5 separate regions of the Homo sapiens genome follow, and regions 1, 2, 4 and 5 are each linked to region 3. The links are contacts of gene promoters, found by promoter capture Hi-C in blood cells and fetal thymus (Javierre and others, 2016). All regions are on one chromosome and are shown on one strand. Each heading gives the region's core, a stretch centred on a gene start or on the middle of the fragment in contact. The rest is flanking DNA. Distances are from core to core; before and after follow the strand shown.

Region 1 (2,700 bases), core at 161-2,660, 240 kb after region 3:
ATAAATAGATATAATAGATGTAAATTACAATCTAAATAGATATATATTATATCTATATCATCTAATAGCTATAACAGATATAATAGATATAGATATTAGATAATATAGATCATATAGGTATAAATAGCTATAGGTAATATAGATACAGATAATATAGATATAACATCTATATCTAATATAATAAATATATTTATATCTAAATAGATATAATAATGTCTTACTGGCTTTAAAAATGTATATGCATGTTATTTTGGTATATAATTAAAATACATGACCAAATATATTTTGGTATATAATTAAAATACATGCATGTTATTTTGGTATATAATTAAAATACATGACCAAAATAGCATACAAGTTAGGAGGAAGGTAAATGGAATTAAATTGGCCTTGTATTTCCTAGGAAGGAGGCAAAAGTACCAAATAACATTAGATTTTTATATTCAAGAATGATATTGCAATAAGTCAAGTAACCACTATAACAGTATTTAAGTAAATCTTCCAAAATAATAAAGAGAATAAATAAAATGATAAAAAATACTTGCAACACCAGTGGAGGGGAAAGAGTATGATCTTAGGTCTAACTAAACATTTTGACTCAGAATACTCATAGGCCACATTTGGCACCAATCTCTTCAAAAGGCCAAGAACACGGTTTGCTAGCAGGTAGCGTCAGTGTCCTTGGAGCAGTCCACACAGCAGTCAAGTGACAGCTTAGGTGTAAGGAGATGAGATCCACATTGGACATGTGTGCGAGGTGAACTTGGCTTAAAAGCCTCATGCCCCACAGGACCAAATATCTCTTAGAACAGCTCAGAAGACATAGCTTCAAGGGTCCAGCAAAGGACAGACCTAATACAGGAGTCACTAAGCTCAGGCAAACCCAAAGTATATAAAACCCACCAGACATCATTCTCCCAAGACAGATGCAATTTACTGACAGGGATAATTCTGACCATAAGTAATGTTGTTAAGTGATACATGTCTTACTAGGTTGCCAGAGGAACAGAGCTAGAAATTTAACTGAGGTTAAGCTGTCAAGGGGAAGGAATAAAGTTTTGTTTACCTTTCTCCCACAATAATCAATCTAAAAGAAATACAGAAAAAAAGAAAATAAATACAGAAGAGTCAAATAGAAGCATTAACAAGATGCCTGATTTAAATGCAACACACACTATATTAAAAGTAAATGAACTAAATGATTTATTCAAAAGACAAAAATTGTCAGACTGGATTAAAAAAATCAAAGCTAACTATATGCTACTTATGAGAGACACACTTGAAACATAAGGATATAGAAAGATTGAAAGTAAAAGGATGAAAAAGATATACCATGCAAACTCTAGCCAAAAGAAAAGCTGGCATAGCTATATTATTCATGCAAAGCAGATTTCAAGGCAAAAAGCAATATGGAAATAGAGATGTTTCATAATGATAAATGACTCAAACACCAGGAAGATATAACAGTTCTAACTTGAATGAGCCTAACAAATTCTCTAAATATTTACACAAAAAATCAAAGGTACAATAAGGACAAGCAGATAAATTCAGAATCAAGGCAGAGTTTAAAACACCTTTCAATGTTTACAAAACAAAGAAGTCAGGAAGAAAATAGAAAAGTTGAACAATATTATTAGCAAACTTGACCTAATGGACTTGTATAGAATATTGAATGCAATTTTTTTTTTTTTTTGAGACAGTCTCACACCGTCACCCAGGCTGGAGTGCAATGGCGTGATCTCAGCTCATTGCAACCTCGGACTCCCGGGTTCACGTGATTCTCCTGCCTCAGCCTCCCGAACAGCTGGGATTACAGGGTGCACACCACCATGCCTGGCTAATTTTTTGTACTTTTAGTAGAGACAGGGTTTCACTATGTTGGCCAGGCTGGTCTTGAACTCCTGATCTTGTGATCTGCCCACCTTGGACTCCCAAAGTGCTGGGATTACAGGCATGAGCCACCGCGCCCGGCTGCAAATTATTTTTTAAAGACAAACAAAACATATACATAAAGCAAATTTAGCAAATTTCTAAAAATTGAAACCACACAGAGTATGTCTTTTGATGAAATAAGACTAAGCTAGAAATCAAGAGCAAAAAGATAATGAGAAAATCCTATATGTTGAAAATTAAGAAAAATACTTCTGAACAACTAAACCTTAGGTCAAAAAGGAAATTACAATGTGATTTGGAAAATATTTTGGACTGAATAATGTATAAAATCATGTAGGCAACGCAATCTTATAAGGCATCATATGAAGAGTATTAATACAACTTTATTAACCAGAAAATAGTTGAATGGACTATTACCAGTACTGAGTGATTACGCATAGGAAGTGGCAATATTGGATGAGACACTAACAACCAACTAAGAAATGGGGGGAAGCCCTTTCATCCTGTTTAGTGATATAAAAGTCTTTGGATAAGGAATATAGTGGGAATACTTTCTCTATATTTAATCAGCATTCTGTCTCAATTTATAAATGCTGCCTCCTCTCTCATTTATAAATATCCAGACTGACTCAGCCTAAGAAATCCTAAATTTGGCAAATTCAGAGTGTCTTATAAAGGTTAAATTGCAAAAGTTAATAGTGATCTTATTCTCTTGAACTTTTTCACCTGTCTCTCCCTATATATTTTACGGGAAAAAAAACACCATTTGTGAAAGTACACCAATCAGTATATAGATTAGCTAGACTA
Region 2 (2,700 bases), core at 147-2,646, 180 kb after region 3:
CTTAGTCTTGGCCTTGCCCAAGGCCTTCCTCAAATGTATAGGGATCGTTGGCCCTCCACTCTCACTGAAGGGTGAACAGCCCTTAGAAGCTCTGTATAAGTGCTTCATGGATGGGGAACTTCACTACAGGGTGATTAGGTTGGGAGTAGCCATCTGTGGGGAACCCCAGAATGTCAGGATCATGAAGTGTTTTCTCTTTCCTGCCAGAATCCTCAGAGTGAAGGGGTCTGGGGTGGGTGGTGGGGGGAATCTTACTCCTCAGTGTCTATACTTTCATTTAATATCCTTGGTCTCAATATGGTACCTGACCCCTCTCCTCCACTAAGCCTGGTGTCCCTAAGTTCAGAACTTCTCTAAATCCTGTTCAATTTACTCAGACAAGAAACTTCTTGCCATCTATCAGAATGAGGCTGAGGTAGTCCCTTAGCTTTGTGTGGTCTGGGGAGAGACCTAGTGTCTAATTCCTCTTTATATAGATTTTAACCAACCTCCTCTGTCAGGGCCACCCCTCATCCCTACCTACAGAGGCACCCAGTCCTTCCCAGTCTAGAATCTTTCTACAGCCCTACAGTCAGAACAAGGCAAACTGTCTTGCCTGTTTGCCTTGTTCTCTGCAGGCACTTGCCTGGGAGTAACGACTCATTTACTTACTTCTAAACTTATGCTGACACCTCTTGTCTTCTGTTGTTTCCACTATGGTACTATTTGTCCTCGTAGGTTTATCCAATTTTTATTCCTTTTCTGCTCTTTTCGAGATGTTAAGAGAGTGGATATAAACACAACTGTCATGTTTAACCAGATGTTTCATAATGCCATCTTAATTCTACCATTTTTTCTTCTGCTGCATACTTCTTCAGCAGTCAGACGTTTCAAAGCAACATCTAACAGTCATTAAACTTTGCAAAAAAAAGTAGGATTCTAGGTTGCACTCTATTAAGAAGTAGGGCAATTATGTATCTTCCGTTTCGTCTCAGAATCAAACACAGGTCAGCTTTCCTTTTTTTCTCCTAGTTCCCCATGTTTTGTTTTGTTTTGTTTTTCAAAATTCTAGTCATTATGGGCATTGGGGGCTCTTTCTGTCTTGTTGTCAATATAAATCACTACTTCACAGCTCCCTGGTACTCTGAATTAGACATTCTCTTGGTTTCCACAAACAGAATTGTTCAACATTTCAGCTCCTAGCTTCTCAGGTCCTCCATGCCTAAGGACAATTTTTAGAAGCATCTTTCTTCCATTTCTATCTTTAAGTTCCCCCTATGGGGATCTTCGAGATGTCCATATTGAGATGAGTCTACATAATGGGGAACTTTGAGAGTCCACATTGAGATAAGTCTACATAACCCATATGGTTATTTGGGCAGAGTTCTGACACCTTACGGTTGTTAAAAAGTTGTGGTAGAGGAGGGTTTATTTATGTAAATAATGAACTCTCGTTGAATGAACTCTGAGCAAATTATAAATATACAAAATTTGGTATGGACACATTCCATCAAATTTAGAATATGACAGTCACATTCAATTTAGGATATTTCATGATTGACTGATGAAGGGTGTGGCTCTAAGAGCTATTTTAAAGGAAGACTCAGAGACAGAAAAATCTTTCTGAATTATTCCTCTTCCATTTCTATAAGGGACAAAATGAATAAAGACTTGATATGCTATTTTTAAAATGCTGGTGCTCATGTTTTTACCGGACTAGCAGGTTAATATGTAACAAGAAGAAAATATAATCCAGTGAATATAATTTATAGGCTATTAGCTTAATTCCTGACACAAAATTCCTTCGTTTTACAGATAAATTAATAATATTTTGGAAGACATACGATAAATCTAAGACACAAAAGAACCAAATCTTTAGTCAATAAACAAATGTAAAAATCATTAAAATGAAGAGCCACACACACACAAAAAGTACATGTGAGTCTGATCATTACAAGCCGTCCTGATGAACTTAACTATTGCAGGTGGTGGTATTGGTATGTGCTTGGTGGAACATAATTTAGAAGTGACCACCCCTGAGCTGTCTTACCTTGGTCTGGGAGACTAACTTGCCGAGTTAATTGACCCATGAACCTTCGTTTAGGACATGCCCATTTTATATATATGGCCTTGTCCAGATTCATTAACCTTGCAATTCTTTAGTGCACACAATTGCTGCCTATTAATGATTTCTTCACTATGATGATGACATGATCTGACAGCCTCCTTATAACTGTAACTTCAAGAAGTAATTGAACCTTTTGGTCAATTACTATCAGAAGAACAGCCCAATATCAACACTATTGAAACCCAAATCGCAATTATTTTGCAGACAAATGAAAATAAAATTACTCCAGATAATAGGTTAAGTAACTCTGACAGATTTTCCAGGATTCAATCTTGTAAACACTCTGTGGAGCTGTAGGAAAGTGACTGCTTTCTTTTGTTTGGTTTTGTTTTCTTAAAAGAGGAGGTAAAAACTTGGTAATTCATCTTGAAAATCTCTCAAGACTATCTAAACTGCATTTTGATGTAGAACTACAGAGTTTTGGTCAAGAGTTTGAGCATCTGAGCAGATCCAAAGTGGTGTCTGGCAATATTTCAGCTTTTTCAGGAGACTCCTACAGCCTCTACCATCTCCAAGTCTACCTCTGTCTGATAGCGAGGTGGCTTACCACCTGGTAAAGAGTACAGGTCAGGCTTTGACCTTGTGTGACAAAT
Region 3 (2,700 bases), core at 192-2,691:
GCCTTGCCCCCCAAGGTTCCTAAAGCCTGGAATTCCTATTGACAGAAATCTGAGTGGCACATAAACAAAACCCAGCACTTTCTGCCTTGATTGCACCATTTTGAATGATGCCAGATTCCCTTTCTGTTCCCCCTAGGACAGTTGACAGGGCTGGTGAAAGCCTAGTCGGCTGGAGTGGTCAGGTAACTGGGTGGCATCCTCTCCTCTGGAGAGCCACTCCCTCATCTCTAGGTCCAGAGATAATCTGGATTAAGACAGGGCTTAAGTTTCCTGTTTCCCAGGTTTGTGGTCAGTTTTGACTCGATCTCCAGAAACAAGGTAAAATAGTAAATGAACAACAGCCTTTGTGAAGGATCTGGATTCACATCTGACAGGAACAGCTTTCAGAAACAGAATTTTACTCAATTTCGCTAGCATCAAGTTCTCAAATTATACATACTTAGAATTGAAAACGTTTAAGAGGGTCAGAAAGCTGGCCGGAGGGGCAGTTGCTTCAGCTTTAATATGACAAATAAGAGGGCGAGTGGGAACTTAGAGGTCATATTTGTGACGGGCTCAGGCTTGGCTACGGGCCACGCTTCTCTGGCTTGGATCTCTGAGGCCCACTTCGGCCGCGGTCATCTACCCATGATGAGGGAACGGAGGCCCCGGAGGGGTGGCCAGAACCGATTGGACTGTCCACTCGAGGTGCGCGTGGCACTCGGGAGGCCTCAGTAAAGGCGTCGCCTCTCCCCGCCCAGGGCCTTCTTCCCCGCGCTCCCTGGCTGCTTTCCACAGGGACGGGGATGTCAGGTGGAAGGAGGGAGCTCCGGACCCTGGCCTCGGCGGAGGGCTCCTCACCAGGCCAGGGCGGCAGCCTCAGAGAGGGCGGGCCGCGCGCTGCCAGGGCAGGGACTCGGCCGAGAGTGCCCCCGCGGCCGGCAGCTGCGGGCGCCGCGGCGGGAACAAAGGCAGCACGTGTCTGGGCGGGACGCGGGCGGGGTCGGCCCTCGGCTCCGCCCTGCTCGGCGCCCGCCCCGCGTCGGCAGAGTTGGGTTGCGCGGGCGCCGAGGACTCTCCGGCGGCCGGGCTGCTGTTGGGCGGCGGCGCGGAGCGGGCGGCGAGCTGTGCGGGAGGGGCGGCCCCGAGGGGCGGGGCGGGCCGACGCCGCGTGTCCCGCCGCAGCCGCGGAGTCCGGCTCCTAGATGGGGCCCGGCGCGTAGAGGTGCCTCCCGCTCGTTGCCGCGTCCTACCCGCACCGTGCGCGGCTCGAGCTGAGGACACCAACGGCCGCGACTCCCCGGCGAGACCAGGCCGGAGCGTGGACGGCGCGCGCGCCCCGCGAGGGAGGGCGCTGAGGCGCGCGCCGGAAGCGGGAGCGGGAGCGGGAGCGCGGCGGCGGCGGCGAAGGTGCGGGCGGCCGAGCGGGGGGCGGGGCTGCGGTGCCTGCAGAACCTTGGACAGAAGCTCCCTAGCTGCCGCCGCCGCCGCCGCCGCCGTCGCCGCCGCCGAGCGCGAGCCCAGCCGATCCCCGCCGAGCGCCCCCGAGCGCCGCCGAGCGCCGGGACCGCGGCGGCGGGGCCGCGGCGCGCATTGCGGAGGGCGCGGAGCGCAGGAGCTGCCGCCTGCCGGGTAAGCCTGCGCTGGGCGGCCGTCCTTGGCCCTGGGGAGCGGAGACCGGGGTCGCGCCCGTGCGGGGTGTCCAGGCGGGGGTCCTCGGCCGCCTCCGTCGGCGACCGGGCCCCTCCCGGCTGCGCCTGGGGACCGCAGCGGCGGCGGCGGGCGGGGGTGCTGCAGTGGAGGCGGCGAGGCTGCGTCGCGGGGGCGCGGGTAGGGCCCGGGACTGGGGCGGCGGGGTGCGCCGAGGCGCGGGGCGGAGGGGCGCAGGGGCGCAGGGGCGCGGCGCGGAGCCCAGCCTGGCGCTAAGAACCATCTTGTTTTCCAGGCAGATCCAAGGGGGCAGCACGCTTCCCGGGAGCGCCCCCGCCTCCTCTCCGGGGCCGCCGCAGGCTCGGTGAGCGGTTTTATCCCTCCGGCCGGCAGGCTGGGCGCGCAGGGGCGCGAGCCCCCGCCCGGCGCGCAGCAGCACCATGGGCACGGTGCTGTCCCTGTCTCCCAGCTACCGGAAGGCCACGCTGTTTGAGGATGGCGCGGCCACCGTGGGCCACTATACGGCCGTACAGAACAGCAAGAACGCCAAGGACAAGAACCTGAAGCGCCACTCCATCATCTCCGTGCTGCCTTGGAAGAGAATCGTGGCCGTGTCGGCCAAGAAGAAGAACTCCAAGAAGGTGCAGCCCAACAGCAGCTACCAGAACAACATCACGCACCTCAACAATGAGAACCTGAAGAAGTCGCTGTCGTGCGCCAACCTGTCCACATTCGCCCAGCCCCCACCGGCCCAGCCGCCTGCACCCCCGGCCAGCCAGCTCTCGGGTTCCCAGACCGGGGGCTCCTCCTCAGTCAAGAAAGCCCCTCACCCTGCCGTCACCTCCGCAGGGACGCCCAAACGGGTCATCGTCCAGGCGTCCACCAGTGAGCTGCTTCGCTGCCTGGGTGAGTTTCTCTGCCGCCGGTGCTACCGCCTGAAGCACCTGTCCCCCACGGACCCCGTGCTCTGGCTGCGCAGCGTGGACCGCTCGCTGCTTCTGCAGGGCTGGCAGGACCAGGGCTTCATCACGCCGGCCAACGTGGTCTTCCTCTACATGCTCTGCAGGGATG
Region 4 (2,700 bases), core at 64-2,563, 210 kb after region 3:
ACAAAAGTGTACAGCAGTCAAAAGAGTGTGTGTGGGAAGCAGGCCTCTTAGGTTCAAATCCCAGCTCTGGTGTTTACCGTGTGTGACCTCTGCCAAGGTCCTTAACCACTCAGTGGCTTTAGCTCCCTTATCTATTAAATGGAAATAATAATGGACACTCATTCACAAGGTTCTTGTAATGACTTAGTTAAATAACCAGAATAGTAAAGTATCCAGAGTAGTGCCTATCACTCAGGAAATACTAGCTACCATATCAGTAGGTTTTGTGTTTTCTTTCTTTTCTCTTTTCTTTTTCCTTCCTTCCTTCTTCCTTCCTTCCTCCCTCCCTTCCCCCCTCTCCCTCCCCCTTCCCTCCTTCCTTCCTTCTTTCCTTCCTTCCTCCCTCCCTCTCTTCCCCCCTCCCCCTCCCCCTTCCCTCCTTCCTTCTTTTCTTTTTTAAGGACAAAAGTAATCAATTTTATATGAGAAATAATTATTTTGCTTTTAGTCTTAGAAATAAAACACTTGATTGGTTTTACAAAGAAGTCAGAGTGCTTTGTTTAGAAATCATATGAAAGCCCCCATCACTTCATGTCTCTATCTGACAGTTTCCTAACAAATAAAACATTAGGCAAATGAATGACAAAACCAATAAAATCCAATTTTCAGATAATGATTCTATTCATACTTTTTCTTTTGGCTGGTTTACAAAATTATCGTACTCACTGAAAATGATTACACTATATTAATCTTTGAGTCTACTTATAATTAACAGTTATTATATTATTCTCAGTTTCAGAATTTACTATTTTCATTATATGTTTATGCTTTAATGAGCCACTTTTAATCCTTCACAAGATCTTTCTTGTGATAAGGGAGCTAAAGCCATAATATAATCCAATAATAAAAAATGCAAAATGCAAATTTAACAAATAAATATAAGAACATATAAATAATATGAAATTGTTAATTTAGACAAACTAAAGACGCCACTCCTTGCCATACATAAGCCACATTTATTTTATTTTAATTTTAATTTTTTTCAAGACAAGTCTTGCTCTGTCGCCCAGGTTGGAGTGCAGTGGTACCATCTTGGCTCACTGCAACCTCTGCCTCCGGGGTTCAAGCAATTCTCCTGCCTCAGCCTGAATAGCTGGGATTACAGGTTTGTGTCATCACGCCCGGCTAATTTTTGTATTTTTAGTAGAGATGGGGTTTCACCATGTTGGCCAGGCTGGTCTCGAACTCCCGACCTCGTGATCCCCCTGCCTCAGTCTCCAAATAAGCACTGGGATTACAGGCATGATCCACCGTGCCCAGCCCATAAGCCACCTTTAAAACATTCAATTTTTAAAGATGAAATGATATGTCACTGAAAATCATAATTAATATTACATATCAAGTTTCTGAAATATATGGGAACAAAACTCCCAAATGACAGAGATAACTGTCAGACTGCCAGGAACCACTCACTGCCTTAGGTGTTGATGCTGCCCTTTGATAAAGATGAGTGTGCTCCTTTCTCAATGCTGTCTCAGCTCTGGGGGTGGCCACGCCTATCCCTAACCATCTGTGAAAAGATAGTTTCCAGTCAACTGGGAACAATGAACAGAAACTATTAATTATTAATTTTATATGGTATGATAACAGTATGAAGTCCTTATCTATAAAGTCCTTATCTGTAGATTGGTATTTAAGGGTGACAAAAGATATCTGGGATGTTCTTTAAAAACTTCAACCAAACCAAAACAAACATACATAAAAGCATGAGGTGGGAATTAGATAAAATAAGAATGACAAAATATTGTTAATTGTTGAATCTGGGTGATGGAAACATGGAGATTCATTAAACTGTTCTTCCTATTTTTGTGAATATTTGCAATTTTCCATAATAAAAATATTAAAAAATAACATATACCTTATTTCACATTATACTCACAAAAAATCACTGTACACCAGGCCCTAAAGTAAACCTCAATAAATTCCAGAAAGTAGAAATGGAACATTTAACATTCTGTGATCATAAAGCAGTGAAACTAAAAAATTAAGAACAAAATTAGAAAAGTAAAGAAAATACACACACAAAACATGTATCACCTGGAAATGATTTAAAAAAATTTTTTTAAACAACTTTCAGGGAAAGAGAAAATGTAAACATAAAAAATAATTAAATAATAATATATCAGGTCCTACAGATCAGCAGTCTCCAACTTTTTGGCACCAAGGACCAATTTCATGGAAGACAGTTTTTCTATGGACTGGGAGGTGGTAGGGGATGGTTTCGGGATGAAACTGTTCCATCAGATCATCAGGCATTAGATTCTCATAAGGAGTGTACAACCTAGATCCCCTGCATGGGCATTTCACACACAACAGGGTTCCTGCTCCTATGAGAATCCAATGCCGCTGCTGATCTGATAGGCCGCGGAGCTTGCTTGCCCTCTGCTCATCTCCTGCTGTGGGGCCCAGTTCCTAACAGGCCACGGACCAGTACCAGTCCGTGGCACAAGGGTTGGGGACCCCTGCTACAGATACAGCAGAAGCAGATCCACAAAAAATTTCACAGTTCATTACTAATAAATGTGAAAGAAAAAACTGAACGAAGTGTTCAACTCCAGAAGTTGGAGAAAGATAAACTGATTGCCTCTGCTCTTTATATTCCAAAAAGGAGAGGAATTGATGAAGATAAAAAAATTAACAAATTAGAAATCAGAAAATGGG
Region 5 (2,700 bases), core at 196-2,695, 140 kb after region 3:
CTCCTATTTATTCAATAGATTTAAAAACTTGTGTCCATACAAAAAACCTGCTTGCAAATGTTTTTAGTAGCTTTATTCATAGTTGCCAAAAAGTGGAAGCAATCAATAGGTGAATGGAGAAACAAATTACGGCACCTCCATATAATGAACTATTTCTTGACTAAAAAAACAAAATGTGCCAACAAGCCATGGGAAGACATGACGGAACCTTAAAGGCCTACTGCTAAGTGAAAGAAGACAATCTGAAAAGGCTACATTCTGTATGATTCTAATTATATGACATTCTAGAAAAGGCACAACTGTAGAGACAGTAAAATGATAGTGGTTCCCGTAGGTTCAGGGGAAAGAGGGAAAGGAATGAACAGGTTACGCACACAGGATCTTTAGAGCAGTGAAACTGTTCTGTGTGATACTGTAATGGTGGATACATGACACTATACATTTGCCAAAACCTACAGAACTCAACAGCATCAAGAGTGAACCTTTGTGGGCAACTTAAAAAAAATTAGGAGGTTGGGGGGTTTCAGGAAGGAATGCAAAATGTGACAAGAGAATCCACTTATATTAAAAAGTATGGGCCAGGCACAGTGACTCACGCCTGTAATCCCAGCACTTTGGGAGGCCAAGGCAGGTGGGTCATGAGGTCAGGAGTTTAAGACCAGCCTGGCCAAGATGGTGAAACCTCGTCTCTACTAAAAATACAAAAAAAATTAGCCAGGCGTGGTGGCGGGCGCCTGTAATTCCAGCTACTCGGCTGAGGCAGAGAATTGCTTGAATCCGGGAGGCGGAGGTTGCACTGAGCCAAAATTGCGCCACTACACTCCAGCCTGGGTGACAAAGCGAGATTTCATCTCAAGAAAAAAAAAAAAAAAGGTATCAATCTCACTGAAGAGGGCGGAAAGAAAAGGTGCTGACCTAGGTAACTTTGGAAATGAGTGGAGTGTGTAAGACTAAAGGGAAAAGGAAGTGCATGTAGCACTGTACTCTATTTGATAAAGTCGTGCCTCACAGGAGTACAGGTTAACAATTCTGATACTGCTATGCATGGATACTGGAAATGAACAATTAGGTAAATGGACAGTGGATGGTGCAAGCCAGGTTTCTCACTTTTGGACAGGGAATTTAAAGATAAGCGATGGGGGAAGGCTAGAATGACTCATGTGGTCATGGACTAGAGTGAGAGACACTAGTATAAACTCATGTTTAACTTCATATAAAGATGGTCACATATAAAAATATTTATAAAGATGTGTATATACACAGATTATACACATATATTTCTGTCCTGTGCCAGCTGAGAGGACCTAAAAGAAATGAATCCCCGGTAGCAACAAGCACATCTAGTATTCAGATCTGTTTCTTTCTTTTGTAGAGACAGTGTCTCACTATTTTACCCAGGCTGGTCTCAAACTCCTGGGCTCAAGCAATCTTCCCATCTTGGCCTCCCAAAGTGCTGGGATTACAGACGTCCAGCCTAGTAATATTCTAACACAGGATTATGTGATGATTGCACAACTGCATAAATTACTAAAAATAACTATAACTTACAATGGGCAAATTTTATGGTATGTAAATATATTAGTTTGCTAGGGCTGCCATGATAAAGTATCACAGACTAGGTGGCTTAAACAGCAGAAATGTATTTCCTTGAAGTTCTGGAGGCTGGAAGTTTAAAATTAAGATGTTGGTAGAGTTGTTCCTCCTTTTTTTTTTTGAAATGGAGTCTCGCTCTGTTGCCCAGGCTGGAGTGCAGTGGTGTGATCTCGGCTCACCGCAAGCTCCGCCTCCTGGGTTCACATCATCCTCCTGCTTCAGCCTCCCGATTAGCTGGGACTATAGGTGCCTGCCGCCACATCTGGCTATTTTTTTTGTATTTTTAGTAAAGATGGGGTTTCACCTTGTTAGCCAGGATGGTCTCAATCTCCTGACCTCGTGATCCACCCGCCTCAGCCTCTCAAAGTGCTGGGATTACAGGCATGAGCCACCACGCCCTGCCGGTAGAGTTGTTCTTCTGACGGCTTCTCTCCTTGCCTTGTAGATGGCTGTCTTCTCTCTGTCTTCACATGGCCTTCCCTCTGTACCTATGTTGTAATCTCCTCTCATGTGGACACCAGTCATACTGGATTAGGGCCCACTCTTAAGATCCCACTTTAACTTAATTACTACTTTAAAGACCCCATCTCCAAATACAGTCACTTTCTGAGGTACTGGGGGTTTGGACTCTGATATATAAATTTTGGGGGAACACAATTCAGTCTGTAACAGTGAATTATACCTCAAGAAAGCTATTTTAAAAAGTCAATATGATGGGAAAAAAACAGGGTAGGGGTATATGTGAGTGGAAGTGCAGTGTGGACTAAAACAGACCAGAGATGTAACTACCAAGTGCCATATGATGGAATAATTTTACTTCTACATATGTAAATGTGAACCTACACAGAATTCTGTTATTAAAAAAACAGGTTTAAAAGGCAGTCTTTGGCTAGGTGTGGTGTGGCTCATGCCTGTAATTCCAGCACTTTGGGATTTGAGGCTGAGGCAGGAGGATTGGCTGAGGCCAGGAGTTCCAGACCAGCTTGGGCAACGTGAGACCCTGTCTCTACAAAAAAAATTTTCAAAGTTTAGCCAAGAGTAGTGGCGTGCATCTGCAGTCCTAGCTACTTGGAAGGCTGAGGAGACAGGAATGCTTGATCCCAGGAG

What was found. Contacts are between HindIII fragments. The CHiCAGO score rates a contact against its expected background, and 5 or more counts as called.
Region 1: a fragment that was not itself captured here is called in contact with the fragment with the promoter of CDK5R1 in region 3 in 2 of 17 cell types (endothelial precursors and naive CD8 T cells); the score reaches 5.6 in endothelial precursors.
Region 2: a fragment that was not itself captured here is called in contact with the fragment with the promoter of CDK5R1 in region 3 in 14 of 17 cell types (M0 macrophages, naive B cells, M1 macrophages and 11 more); the score reaches 10.8 in M0 macrophages.
Region 4: a fragment that was not itself captured here is called in contact with the fragment with the promoter of CDK5R1 in region 3 in 5 of 17 cell types (naive CD8 T cells, M0 macrophages, M2 macrophages and 2 more); the score reaches 6.6 in naive CD8 T cells.
Region 5: a contact is called between a fragment that was not itself captured here and the fragment with the promoter of CDK5R1 in region 3, in 12 of 17 cell types (total B cells, naive CD8 T cells, naive B cells and 9 more). The highest score is 11.6, in total B cells.

What each region holds. Positions count from the first base shown.
Region 1 is chr17:32,726,533-32,729,232 of GRCh38, forward strand. The region is part of intron 14 of MYO1D (myosin ID); the gene reads right to left. Among named protein-coding and RNA genes, the nearest start is that of MYO1D-DT, 150 kb to the right of the region's middle. The HindIII fragment of the contact is 9,933 bases long and covers 1-2,700 here.
Region 2 is chr17:32,665,684-32,668,383 of GRCh38, forward strand. All of the region lies in intron 16 of MYO1D (myosin ID), which reads right to left. Among named protein-coding and RNA genes, the nearest start is that of CDK5R1, 180 kb to the left of the region's middle. The HindIII fragment of the contact is 5,410 bases long and covers 1-2,700 here.
Region 3 is chr17:32,485,552-32,488,251 of GRCh38, forward strand. CDK5R1 (cyclin dependent kinase 5 regulatory subunit 1) reads left to right here and starts at 1,442. Exons shown (of 2, transcript NM_003885.3): 1 at 1,442-1,611; 2 at 1,925-2,700. The coding sequence starts at 2,070. RefSeq lists enhancers at 228-729, 1,969-2,528 and silencers at 802-1,331, 1,442-1,701, 1,792-2,081. The HindIII fragment of the contact is 10,728 bases long and covers 1-2,700 here.
Region 4 is chr17:32,697,964-32,700,663 of GRCh38, forward strand. All of the region lies in intron 16 of MYO1D (myosin ID), which reads right to left. Among named protein-coding and RNA genes, the nearest start is that of MYO1D-DT, 180 kb to the right of the region's middle. RefSeq lists a silencer at 1,367-1,567. The HindIII fragment of the contact is 7,050 bases long and covers 1-2,700 here.
Region 5 is chr17:32,628,877-32,631,576 of GRCh38, forward strand. All of the region lies in intron 20 of MYO1D (myosin ID), which reads right to left. Among named protein-coding and RNA genes, the nearest start is that of CDK5R1, 140 kb to the left of the region's middle. The HindIII fragment of the contact is 3,506 bases long and covers 1-2,700 here.